Regions from separate parts of the Homo sapiens genome. Here regions 2 and 3 are each linked to region 1. The links are contacts of gene promoters, found by promoter capture Hi-C in blood cells and fetal thymus (Javierre and others, 2016). All regions are on one chromosome and are shown on one strand. Each heading gives the region's core, a stretch centred on a gene start or on the middle of the fragment in contact. The rest is flanking DNA. Distances are from core to core; before and after follow the strand shown. Region 1 holds the start of RFXAP (regulatory factor X associated protein). Region 2 has its middle 34 kb from the start of UFM1. Region 3 has its middle 16 kb from the start of UFM1.

What was found. Contacts are between HindIII fragments. The CHiCAGO score rates a contact against its expected background, and 5 or more counts as called.
Region 2: a fragment that was not itself captured here is called in contact with the fragment with the promoter of RFXAP in region 1 in 1 of 17 cell types (monocytes); the score reaches 5.5 in monocytes.
Region 3: a fragment that was not itself captured here is called in contact with the fragment with the promoter of RFXAP in region 1 in 1 of 17 cell types (total CD8 T cells); the score reaches 5.9 in total CD8 T cells.

What each region holds. Positions count from the first base shown.
Region 1 is chr13:36,816,948-36,821,591 of GRCh38, forward strand. It overlaps RFXAP (regulatory factor X associated protein), which reads left to right and starts at 2,275. Exons shown (of 3, transcript NM_000538.4): 1 at 2,275-3,010. The coding sequence starts at 2,411. It overlaps LOC124903158 (a long non-coding RNA gene), which reads right to left and starts at 2,124. Exons shown (of 2, transcript XR_007063760.1): 1 at 1,220-2,124. RefSeq lists a silencer at 2,193-2,562 and enhancers at 2,793-2,842, 2,853-3,082. The HindIII fragment of the contact is 8,641 bases long and covers 1-4,644 here.
Region 2 is chr13:38,381,977-38,386,620 of GRCh38, forward strand. No RefSeq gene overlaps it. Among named protein-coding and RNA genes, the nearest start is that of UFM1, 34 kb to the left of the region's middle. The HindIII fragment of the contact is 5,585 bases long and covers 1-4,644 here.
Region 3 is chr13:38,331,323-38,335,966 of GRCh38, forward strand. No RefSeq gene overlaps it. Among named protein-coding and RNA genes, the nearest start is that of UFM1, 16 kb to the right of the region's middle. The HindIII fragment of the contact is 874 bases long and covers 1,968-2,841 here.

The sequences.
Region 1 (4,644 bases), core at 1,025-3,524:
ATAGCTGATGAATGCTGGGCTTAATACCTAGGTGATGGGATGATCTGTGCAGTGAACTACTATGGCACGTGTTTATCTATCTACCAAACCTGCACATCCTGCACATGTATCCCTGAGCTTAAAATAAAAGTCGAAGAAAAAAAGTAACATTATTTATGAATAAAGTTATATTTTTTCATTTAAAAAAAGGAATAAATGCTTGGTTTCTGTCCAATTCAGTAAAGAAGTAAAGTGTACTTTTTGTTCTTTTTCTTTTTTTTGATGATGGCAAGGACATAAAGTTTTGACATGAATGTTGATAGACATTTTTGTTTATATTGAGAAAAAACAAAAGTGAAACAATGAAGATGTATATAAGGTCTTCACTTGTTCAATGATGTGATGTAAGCAGTTTCTTTGCTGAATTGCATGATAGTTTTCAAATACTGAAAGAATATTTTCTCAGTTGGGGGGGTTGGATATTCACAATGTGAGAGCTGCAGATAGAATACATTTTCAGTTTAATCTTTTTCTTTTTCTTTTTTTCTTTTTTGATGGAGTCTCACTCTGTTGCCCAGGCTGGAGTGCAGTGGCACAGTCTTGGCTTACTGCAATCTCTTCCTCCTGGGTTCGAGCGATTCTCATGCCTCAGCCTCCTGAGTAGCTGGGATTATAGGTGTGGACCACCACACCTGGCTGATTTTTGTATTTTTAGTAGAGACGGGGTTTCATCATGTTGGTCAGGCTGGTCTCGAACTCGTGACCTCGTGATCCACCTGCCTGAGCCTCCCAAAGCGCTGGGATTACAGGTGGGAGCCACTGAGCCTGGCCTTAAATTTAATCTTCATTAACATTTTCACTGTCACTTTCTTAAGTGCAGAGACAATCAGCAATAAGTGTAAACCTGCTTCGTAGCATTTGATCATTTCCCTGGTGTAAATACTCCAAAAGTGGCTGATTTCAAGCAATCAACATGACATACTGAAGGCAGAGTTGGGAAAATGTGCAGTAACACACCACTAAATAATATTTCCGCATACAGATACAATAGACATAAATAACCTTAAAAGCACAGATAATGATAAAACATAATAAAATAATTAGAAAATGAAGAGTTTTGAGATTTGTACCCTTTGTTTTTAATATAATCTTATTGTAAGTTTATGTAGTAAGACTTTTAATAATAGCAGTGTTTAATTTTTCTGCTAATTATATTCCTGAAATTTTAGCAACCAGTTACCATCAGTTGGCGCTAGCACACCACCGACTGCAGGCTTTACTGATGAGGAAACTGAGGCTCGGAGAGGCTGTCACGAACTTGCTGTAGTCACACAGGAAGTACTACCTAGGTTGCTCTAATTCCAAACCTTCTCCCTTCCATATGCCTCTCTTTAAAACATAACTGATCTACCTATATGTCAGCACCCAAACATCTTAGTGTGAATGGATTTATAGTTTGTTGAATAAAGTCATTGCTTTCCGGTAGGTGGGATGGGAAATCTGACTAGGCGAAAGAATAGGATGAAGGGAAAAAGAACATCTACTTAACAGTTCAGGATACGGCAGGATATTTTCTCTCCTGGGATTTGGGCAAGCCAAGATTTAACAACCAGCAATTGCCCAGCAACTGATAGAACTGGTAGAACATTCATTGTTTTTTTAAACGTTTGCCATTCAGTATTCCTTTTCACACATTTTCACTGTGTTAAACGAAAACGTTAAGACTTATCTCAGCAGCCACAGCAAAGAGCAAGTACTAACAATCAAGTGAGTTTCCAGGAGAAAAAAAACAAAGTTATCCCTCAATGCAAATACAACTCGGCCAAAGGTGTGGCCCATCCCTCTCCGCTCCACTATTTTCAAATAAGCCACCTCTGCCTTCATGGACTGCGAGCTAGTGACTCTAGGCTGTGACACCACTGCATCCCAGCTTCAAATCTCCCCTTGCAGGCAGTTTGTGGGGGAAATAATAAAATTAGCATCCTAACACTACAAGTCGTGAGACCGCTCAGGAACAATCCTAATTTGCATACTGGAACTCCTGTAGAAGATACTTTGAACCGCTTTAGATACAATAGGATCAGGTAAAACGGCGCTGCCTTGCCAGCCACTGCAGGTTTTCACCTGACACAGCCCCCAGACCCTGTCTACGAATCCCCCAGCTGGCCGAAGGGGCCGCGGCCGCACATGCGCAGTCAGTCCCGTTGGTTGTGCGCTCAGCCCCGCCCCCAGAGGCGCCGCGCTCCCTGACAGCCCGCGGGCGTACACACGCTGACGCGCAGGCTGCGGTCGCGCAGGCGCAGTCGGGGCGCCTTCCCGGTATAGGCGCCTTTTACCCCAGCGTGTCCTGAGTCTTTGGTTCGCGAAGTGCCGTTAGGCCAAGCAGGTGCTAAAAGCCCGGGGTCGTGGACCCCGGCCAGGTCTTAGCAGCATGGAGGCGCAGGGTGTAGCGGAGGGCGCGGGGCCGGGCGCCGCCAGCGGCGTGCCCCACCCCGCGGCCCTAGCCCCGGCTGCGGCTCCCACCTTGGCGCCAGCCTCGGTGGCGGCCGCGGCCTCTCAATTCACCCTGCTAGTGATGCAACCCTGTGCTGGGCAGGACGAGGCTGCGGCCCCCGGGGGCAGCGTTGGGGCGGGCAAGCCCGTTAGGTACCTGTGCGAAGGGGCCGGGGATGGCGAAGAGGAGGCTGGGGAGGACGAGGCGGACCTGTTAGACACTTCGGACCCTCCGGGGGGAGGCGAGAGCGCGGCTAGTTTGGAGGATCTAGAGGACGAGGAGACTCACTCGGGGGGCGAGGGCAGCAGCGGGGGCGCCCGGAGGCGGGGCAGCGGTGGGGGCAGCATGAGCAAGACCTGCACCTACGAAGGCTGCAGCGAGACCACGAGCCAGGTGGCCAAGCAGCGCAAACCGTGGATGTGCAAGAAACACCGCAACAAGATGTACAAGGACAAGTATAAAAAGAAGAAGAGCGACCAGGCCCTGAACTGCGGTGGGACTGCCTCGACTGGCAGCGCGGGAAACGTCAAACTCGAGGTATCAGACTTAGCTGAGGCCTGGGGATGGGAGGTGGAAGAAGAAACCCGATCTTAACGCAAACCGCATCTGCAGGGCCTGCCTCCCCACTTCCAAATGGGCCGGTTTGCAGTGACTGGGTTAGTGGTTGAGAATTAGAGTGTTTGCCCTAAATTAAAGTTTATACCAACATGTGCAAAGCAATAACAGTTCTGTTGAACTCATGATAGGTGCAGAAATTTCAGTAAAAATAATGTGACATCGGCAGAGCTGTCATAGATCTGGGATATGGCTGGAAGGACATAGAGTAAATGATCGGTCTGGTTCATCGCTAAAGGAGACTTAGGAACCTAGATGAAGTTGGTACTTCTGAGAAAGTCATCTCTTTCTGTTTTCACTACTCTATTCTCAGTATCCAGTTCTCAGTACCCAGTTCTCAGTACCTCTATTTGTAATACTCCTGTATTTAGTACTTTGTTTTTAGTGTCCTGTTCTGTTAACCCTCTTCCTAGTACCGTATTTTTAGTACTGCTATACTCAGTTGCCTGTCTGTAGTACCCCTGTACGTAGTACTCTTTTCTTACAACTCTGTTCCCAGTACCCCTATGTTTAGTCCCTTGTTCTCATGTTCTCACTACCCCAATACTTAATATACTTTGTTCTCAGTATCCTTGTTGTTAGTACCCTGTTCTCACTACCCCTTTTCTTAGTACCCCTGAGGGGGGAAAAAAAGGATGATAATGGGGTATAAGTCTCAAAAAACTTTTGGATTGTTTGATTTGAACTGAGTCAAAGGTAAAACCAGTGTTCTGGAGTTCGACTTCTGGGTGCAAATCCCTGTTGCATCATTTACTGGCCTTGTGGCTTGAATAGGTTATTAAACTCTGTAAAATGGGCATTAAAATCGTGTGTCATTCATAGTGTTGCTGTGAATATGTGAGCCATTCCATATTGAGGGTTCACACAGTGTCCAGCAACTGGCTAAAGTTTGCAAACCTTACCCATTATTATTGTCATTGTTAGTGGTATACTTTGAGGCTGTCACAAATAAGCAGATATTTCTTCTTGTGAGAGCTATATAATCCCTTAGTGTAGAGAAAAATTTAATTTTGTTACAAGTGATCCAAGCCAGGTATGGTGGCAAGTGCCTGTATACCCAGCTGTACTTGGGAGGGTGAAGTGGGAAGATTGCTTGAGACCAGGGGTTCGAGGCTGCCGTGAGCCTTGTTTGCATCACTGCATTCCAGCCTGGATGACATAGCAAGACCCTGTCTCCTTAAAAAAAAAAAAAAAAAAAAAAAAAAAATTTTTTTTAACTGCAAGCTGTCTTAGGGTCCTAGGATGTATTCTAAGTCTTTAAATTTCTTAGTTTCAGGCTGAACTTGAAGTGCTCCATCACTAAAATATTAGACCTTGTAATTGTTTACAAATGTAATGTTCTAGGCCAGGCTCAGTGGCTAATACCTGTAAGCCCAGAACTTGGGGAGGCCTAGGAGGGAGGATCGCTTGAGCCCGGAAGTTTGAGACCAGCCTGGGTAACATAGGGAGACCCCATCTCAACAAAAAAATTTTAAAAATTAGCCAGGTATGTTGGCACATGCCTGTGGTCCTAGCTACTCGGGAGGCTGAGGTGGAAGGATCATTGAGCCCAGGAG
Region 2 (4,644 bases), core at 1,492-3,991, 1.6 Mb after region 1:
CCTTAGTTCACTTCCTTGGAAGTTTCATGGAAATCAGTGGGATGTGGAATGATTAGCCAACAGTTGAATTTGGCCTGTGTTCCTGTGTGATTAACATGGCAGGGGGCCAGATAGAACTTGGGAGGTAAAGTGCTGCATTTGCATGAACGATGTCTCCAAAAATTAAATTCGAAAGGGTATGTATGAAGGAAATAATGTTTCTAACAGACCCGTCTGACCCTGTGTTTCCAACTTTTCCTGCCAAGCAACCTTTTCTGTAGACAATCGGAAGAAAGACATCTGTAAAAAGGATATATTGGGGAGTGTGTGGGTCTGTGCACATGTGCGTACTCTTTGTGTGTCGGTGTGACCTGTGTGCATCTGCATGTGTGTACATATTCAGGGAAAAATAGGATTAGAAAGGAATTCAGTAACAACACAGGTTCCCTTCACCTCCCCAGGGAAGCCATGCAGCAGGTAAATGTGTCACGCTTTAGCACATTTTTCCTGCTTAACTTTTATGCACATGTGTCCTCTAGTGTACTGTGTGTGACCACAGTACATGGTCTATATATTTTCACTTTGTCTCCAGTGTGATGCTTGGCACACAGGAAATGATCAAAATGTGTTGAATTGTTTTTGATCAAATCAATCCCAACTTTTATAACTAATTTGGAGGAGCTATTTCTGCTCATCTTCCTTTGCTGCTCCAGAAATTTCTCTCAAGCAAAGACAAAAGGTTGTTTTTAATGCGTGTATGTGCCTGATACTGTTTTAAGTCCTAATATGCAGTGTTAATATAGAAAGGTCTTTGAAATTCAATAAGAAAAGAAAAATACTCATTGATAAATATGAATTCATAAAAAAGAAATTAAGATGGCATATAAGAGTATCTAAACCCTTTTTTCAAAATTTCAAACTCACTAGTGTCAACCTAAAATAATCAAAAGGCATAGGATCCAGTGCAAAATGTAAGGATAGCCATCTGGGACCAATATACCCCAAAGAATGTATATTATTATAACACATTTTTTACACAAAAGCTAACACGCAGACATAAGATTCGATTGGCTACAAAGGGGATTGCTTAATGGTAAAGAGGTAACAATCACAAGAGGCTCTATCTCCAATGTCATTTAGTCTAGATATGAATGAAGAGTAGGGAGTCTGTTTAACATATACTATCTCAACACAAAGGTTAAGAAGCAATAGTCATGCATGACAGAAAGAAAAGCAGTGGTGCTATGTGACTCAGTTTCCAGGGCTTAACTTTTCACCTTGGCATAATAAATTAAGAAGGTTCTGAAATTTTATTTCAGTTTCATAAAATGAAATTTCATTTTATTTCAGTTTCATAAAATGAAATTTCATTTTATTTCAGTTTCATTAAATGAAATTTCATTTTATTTCAGTTTCATAAAATGAAATTTCATTTTCAGTTTCATTAAATGAAATTTCATTTTATTTCAGTTTCATTAAATGAAATTTCATTTTATTTCAGTTTCATTAAATGAAATTTCATTTTATTTCAGTTTCATAAAATGAAATTTCATTTTATTTCATTTTCATAAAATGAAATTGTATATTATTTCATTTTCATAAAATGAAATTGTATTTTATTTCATTTTCATAAAATGAAATTGTATTTTATTTCATTTTCATAAAATGAAATTGTATTTTATTTCATTTTCATAAAATGAAATTGTATTTTATTTCCTAATTTTTAATTTAAAAGTTAAGAAAACTAGACATTCAAAACTTACTAGAGATACAAAATAATACAATAAGATGCTATTTTATCCATCAAAGTATCAAAGATTAGAATTAAAAAATGATATTCAGAGTTGGCAAAAGATGCCAGAAACAGACACACTCATACAGGACCCAAGTAAATGTAAAATGATGCAGTCTTTCTGGAGGATTATAGGGCCATATTATCAAAAGTCTTAAATATCTTCTTTTACGCACTATCCCCATTTCTAGGAATTTATTCAATGGAAGTAATCAGAGGTGTGCATAAATGTTTCTGTGCAAAAGTTATCCCACTATTATTTACAAAAGCAAAGAAGAAAACACAAAGGAAATAACCAAAATGTTTAGTAATAGATATTCAGTTATGAAAGCATACTATTTTAAAATGAGATGAAAAATATTCATAATATAATATTAAGTTAAAATAGGACATAAAGCAAATATTACATGATAAATATTATATATATATATGGGTACTTTAGTCTTAACACTGGTAAAGTGATTTTAATTTTAATATTATTCGAATTTTTTATAAAAAGAATGCATTCCACTTATGTGTGTGTGTTTATCCGTTAATTTAAAGAGTTACTGTGCTCATTATAAAACTAGATGAAAAAAAGACTTTGATCTGCAAAGAGCTGTTCAAACTTTAGCAAGAAATGTGAAATATGTTAAAAATGTAAACACTATGGTTTGAGTTTTATTGTGTACTAATTAAAAGCAAATGTTTGCTAGCTCAAAAAAAAAGAGTTACTGTTATCAAATATTCAAAGCCGAAGGAATATTGTTGAGAAAAACATTAAGATTTTGGATATCCTAAATATTTAATATATTACCTGTAAGTATTTATTCAGAAGAAAAATGCCATAGATTCTTTTTTTTACTGCCTTAAACATATTCTAATGTTTTAGGTGCTTGCTGGGTGACAAATCAGTATTTTTCACTGTGTTAGTTAAGCTACTTCTAGATGTGTTTGTCTTTAAACAAGTGATTATTTTTATTATGTACCAGCACATTGTTATAGCAATTTTTAAAAGCATTGAATGTGTATAGAACAAAGTTGTTTTGTTGTTTCGTTTTTCTTTTCAAACTTTTAATACTTGTTTGCATAAAATTGGTGTTTATTCATTTGTTTAACAAATATTTATTGCACACTTCTACAGTCTGAGTTCTGTTCTTGGCATTGAAGAAACACTGGTGAATAAACATGTCTCTGACCTTGGATTTTAATAGAGCACGTAACAAATAAAAATAACAAAAAAATTACATAAAATCATCTCAGGAGGTGATAGGTGCTACAAGCCAACAGTACAGCAGGATGGGAAGCTCATAAGTGATGAGAAGGATGGTATTAATTAAGGTGGTCAGAGATAACCTCTTGAGGAGGTGTCATTTGAGCAGAAAGATGAATAAGATGAAGGAACAACCCATTTACATCATAGGGACAACATGACAGGCAGAGGGAAACACAGGTTCAAATCTCAGGAGACAGAAAAATTTGACATGCTAGAATCGCAAAAGCACACTGAGATCGGAGTGGAGGACGTGAGGACAAGAGCGAGGGAAAATTAGGTCCAGGCATATCACAGCAGATTTATTGAGTTCTGTGGCTTTTGTTCTAGTGTTACAGGGGGGTTACTGGGAAGATTTAGCGAGAGAGTAATGTGATCTGATTTCCGTTGTTAAAGAGTATGCTGGTTGCTGGGTGAAGATTAAACTGTAGGCAGGAAAGAGAAGAAAGAAAATAATACCAGTTTGGAGGGTCTTGCATCAGTGCAGGCAAAATACAGTTGCTTGTACCAGAAATAAAAGTGATGAGAAGTAATTTTACTCTAAATGTACTTTAAATATAGAACCAGCAGAATCTGCTGAGAAAAAGAGATGAATCAATGATGACTTCTAGGTTCTTGACTCAAGCAACTGCCTGAATGGTGTTTTCATTTCTTAGTGAGGTAAGTGGTTGGAGAAAGTGGATAGCAAAAGTTTTGTTTTCGACGTGTTGGTCTTGAATTGCATACTTGACATCCAAATTGGGATGTGGAGTAAGCAGTGAGATATACAAGTCTGAAGTTCAGAGAGGAAGTATGGTCTGGAGATATAAACGGAGAAATCACATGCACACAAATGGGATTTAGAGCCAAAGAATGGAATAAATACACCTAGAGAGTGAGGAGAAAACAAAAATATGTTCCAAGAATTATGTCCTGTAGTAATCCAACATTTCAAATTGGAAAAGGTGAAGAGTAACTAGAAAATGAGACTGAGAAAATATTGTCAATTCAGTAGAAGGAAAACAGAAAGAGTAGGGAATACAAATAGAAAATTGAAGACGTTTTTCAGCCAGGAAATGATCATTTATGTCAAATCCTCCTGCAAGATCTAGAACAAAGATTAGAAATTGAACTCAAATTGAACTTAGCAACATAGAATTTGATGTCGAGTTTAAGAGTAGTTTCAGTGAAGTTGTGGACTGACAGGCTGACTAGGAAAGACTGCAGAAAGGACAAACGGGAAAGAGGTGGAGACAGTAATGAAGACAATTCTTCTGAAGATGTTTGCTATTATATTCATGCATTTTATGTGTCATATAAATAAAATACACAGTATATATATAAAACATTATATTTACATATAATCAGGATGTTTTAATATATTTAATGCTATAATTTAAACTCTGATAATTTGAGAGGTAAGATATTTCATTTTACTTAAAGCATTGTTTATTTGTAATTGTGATAAAATACATAACATAAATTTTGCCATCTTAGCCATTAAGTCTACAGTTCAGTAGTGTTAAGTGTATTCACACCATTGTGCAATGAATCTACAGAACTTTTTCATCTTGCAAAACTGAGACTGTGTACCCATTAAACAATTCCTCATCACTGCATTCCTTGGAGTGGTGTCACAATC
Region 3 (4,644 bases), core at 1,155-3,654, 1.5 Mb after region 1:
ACTGGAAGGTGCAGTATTATTGTTTATTTATTTATTTTGAGGCAGGGTATCACTCTGTCACCCAGGCTGGAGTGCAGTGGCATCATCATAACTCACTGCAGCCTCAAATTCCTGGGCTAAAAGAATTCTCCTGCCTCAACCTCCCAAATAACTGGGACTACAGGCACACACCACCATACCTGGCTAATTTTTAAAATTTTTGTAAAGACAGGGCCTCCCCATCCCACCCAGACTGGTCTCGAACTCCTGGGCTCAAGTGATCCTCCTGCCTCAGCCTCCCAAAATGCTGGGATAAAAGGTGTGAGTCACCATTCCTGACCTAACTCAGTATTATTAAGATACAATTTCTTCTCCTACATCCCTCTAAAGACTACACAATCCCACTGAAAATGCCAGTTGGATATTTGTTGAAATTTCCAAGTCGATGTTAAAATGCACATGGACAGAATCAAGACTTAGAATAGGCAAAGCAATCTTGAAAAATAAAAAGAAGAAAGCTGCAGTACTTATAACACTTCATATTTGGAATTACTGTAAAGCTATAATAATCAAGACTATAATAATCAAGACAGTGTATCACTGGCATAGGGATATATACAGCAAAAAGGAATAGGATAGAGAGTCTACAAGTAGAACTATACATGTACAGTAAATTGGTCTTTGACCATGTTGCCAACATAATACAATGGGGAAAGAATGATATTTTTTCTTTTTGTTCATTTTTAAAAATGGTGCTAGAACAATTAGATCCCTCTTTGAGAAAAACATTAACTTCAACCCTAGCCTTACACCACCCACAAAAGTGACCCTGAGATTGATTACAGGCCAAAATGTAAAAGCTAAAACTATTAGGCTTCTAAGAGGAAATATAAGAGAGCATATTTGTGACCTTGGACTATGTAAAGATTTCTTATACTAGATTTTAAAAAAGGACTAATCATAAGAAAAGAAAAAATGGACTTTATAAAAGATATATGCTCTTAAAGACTTAAAAAATGAATAAGCAATCCAAAAGTATAAGAAAATATTTGTAAGACATATATCTGTGGAATTCTTACAACTCAATAATAAAAATACAAATAACACAATAAGAAAATAGGCAAAAGATTTGAATGGACATTTCCCAAAAGTGGATATGTAATTGACCAACAAGCACATGAAAAAAGTGCTCAATATTATAAGGCATCCTGGAAATGCAAATTAAAACCACCATGAGTTACTACTACACAACCAGTAGAATGGCTATTTTTAAAATGACAACATTGTTTACAAAGGAAGGGAACGATTAGAACTTCAGACATTGCTGATGGGACTGAAAAATAGTACCACGACTTTGGAAATCTCTGTCACAGTTTCTTTTAAAGTCAAATGTACAACTACCCAGCAATTCCTCTACTAAAAATTTATTCAGGACGGGCACAGCGGCTCATACCTGTAATCTCAGCACTTTGGGAGGCCAAGGCGGGCAGATCACTTGAGGCCAGAAGTTTGAGACCAGCCTGGCCAACATGAGGAAACATCGTCCCTACTAAATATGCAAAAGTTAGCCAGGCATGGTGGCACATGCCTGTAATCCCAGCTACTCGGGAGGCTAAGGTAGGAGGATCACTTGAACCTGGGAGGCAGAGGTTGCAGTGAGCCAAGATGGCACCACTGCACTCTAGCATGGGTGACACAGAGAGACTCTGTCTCAAAAAAAAAAAAAAAAAAAAGCATTTATTCAGGATATAGAAAATATATGTCACCAAAATTACTTCTACAAAAATGTTAATATCAGCCTTATTTATAAGGCTATAAATAAACTCGAAGTAACCCAAATGTCCATAACAAGAGAATAAACAAATTATGTATATTTACACAATCGAATACTACTCAGCAATATGTTCCTAAAATGCAATAACATAATCATCACACTGAATAAAAGCCAGACACAAAAGATAGTTTACTGTATTATTTCAATTATATGAAGCTTTACAATAGACAAAGCTAAGTCATGGTAAAAGAAATCAGGTAAATGGTTGCTCATGGGTACGATGAATTGCCTGGAAAAGAACACAAAGGAAGTTTCTGGAGTGATGGAAATATTCTATATCTTTATTCTTTTTGTAATCTATGTACTTTATTCAAACATTTAAAAACATTATTCTTAGACAGGTTTTGTGCGATTGCCAGTAAGTTGTAAAAGCCTCATGCTAATGGCAGGACTTGAAAACTAGTTGCCTGGGTCTGGAAACTGTAGTCTTATTTACTAAAGTGTGGAAAAGAAATTTATAGACTCTATATTCTCTAGCTCGGTCTTAGCTAGGCATTAAACTGAAGCCAGAAACTGCAAGCCACAATTTCTCATTTACTAAGAAAATAAAAATAATGTTATTAGAAGATAAGCATTATGCCTTATTAGCAGTTGGAAAAAAGGTAAGTTCATCATTCCATATCAGTTATGATAAATGTTATGTTAAATCTGTATTTTTGTATCATATCCTCAATGATTACTCTCTCTCAGGTAAAGAACAATCAACACCCACTGTTATGTTTATTTTTTCCTTTTGTAATCTGAATTTTTCAGAAACATTTTAATTAAATTGCCAAGGAGACACATGAAAAGCCACAGAAGCCATCTTAAAAACATTAGAAGGTTTTCTAGCTTCTTGTAAGTTTTTGATGAACAAAAAAAGAAATAACGACACTGATGATATCATTTATAATATGACCAAATACAATCAGGCATGGGTTTTACGAAGTGTGACTATTTACTTTTTTATACTTTATTATTCCAAACAGTTTGCTTAAATTTGGAGATTAAAAGGTTACATGTCAGGTGTCCATAAACACCTGAGTGAAAGCTTTTAATAATATAAATGTTATCTTTTTAATAGTATAAATGTTCTTCTTTCATTGCTATCATTTTGCATTGAATACAAATAATTCACACAGAAAGGAAAGCTTCACAGCTGAAATATTTTAAAAAGATGTACTGAAACTTACTCTTCCAGCAACTTGACTTCACTTGATTAATTAGCTTTCAAAACTCTATTTAATTTTGAGACTTCTTTAAATCAATGCTATGAAAACTGAGACATGCTTACAGAATTAATTTTTTAAAATTTTTTTCTTAGCAAAGTAGAAGATATATATATATATAGAGAGAGAGAGAGAGAGAGATGTAATACGCATATATAAATATATATTGGAAGCCCACATGTGTAAGTCTGCTTACTAAGAAATCCAAAATGCTTCTTGCCACTTAAAACTTGTAACTAAAAATATTTATTACAGGAAATAATTGTGTTAGGATGTTTGTTGCAGAAAATTGTTTGCTCACCCAAAGTTGAATAGCACATATATTTTTAGAGGTTGTTTTATCCAAAAATCTTGTGATAATTAACTCAGTATGATCTTGCTCTAATTAACTCAAGTATGAATAACAGAATAATATAGTTTCTTAAAATTAAAAGCATAAAGGTATTGCAGCAGGCCAGGTCTCACTAACACAGGCCTCCGTAACAACTGTTTCAGCACTGACTTGGTGGTTAAGTTAAATATTAAAAGCTGACAGAGCCAGTGCCCTTTTGCAAAGGCTGAAATGTAACAAAAGCCCACCAAGAGTTTTGCCCAGGTCTTTCCTGGGCCTTAAAGCATGACAAGATAAAGAAGGACTTCTTGACAGGACCTGTTTAGGATTAGACAAGTTTTACTGGGAGTCCGAAGAAACTCCCCAAACCTCCATGGTTTAGCAGAAGACAAGATAAGGGTAATCACCCCAGCACCTGGACCCATTTAGATTAACTAAATTTACTGAGGATCCAGATGAATGGCTTTAGGACTCAGATCTTAGTTACAGAATAAAGGAAGTTAATCACTTATATCTTTAGATGAATGCATACTTACGCATAGACATATAGCTTAGAAGGTATATAAGCTCACGGAAACTTTTAATTTTGAGTTGGTCTGGCGATAATTTCCAGGCCTTCTCCCTGTAACCAGTTACAGAAATAAAAACTCTCTTCCTCCTCAGTTCATCTGCATCTTGTTATTGGGCTGCGAGAATAAGCACCCCGACCCTAAGTTTGGTCTGGGAACAGTAACCTTCTGGTAAAATTTACATGTCAAAAAATGACTCAAACAAAAGCATTTTAAAAACTGCAAAGGCTCATTTGCCTATGACAATAGTAAGTTACATTGGCCTACGGAAGCTACTGATGTATATTATCTATGATAGCAGAAACCAAGCTTCTTCAATGTGTGATTACCAGTACCTATTTAATGGCTGGCAGGGAACATTAAATATACTTATAAATATGTAAAAAGTCAATATGATCGTTCCTAATTAAAGTTAGTTTACTAAAGGTTATGAACAAATCGTGATTGTAGTCTTATTTCTCTGAACATTGGGAGTTATTTTTAAATTCCAAAATGGAGAGAAATTTTATTAAAATTTTGAGAAAAGAAAAGCTAAAATTAGAATTTTCTGACATTCAGGAAAGATGAAAAGTTAAAAATGCAAATAAGAAAATGTTAGAAGGCAAAGTAATCAATGTATTCATAGCCAGAGAATTTTAATAGTTTTGGCTTACATTCCTAATCTCAGACTGCTAGACCATCCTTCCATAGCTCCCAGGACATAAAATCAGTTAAAATTCATTT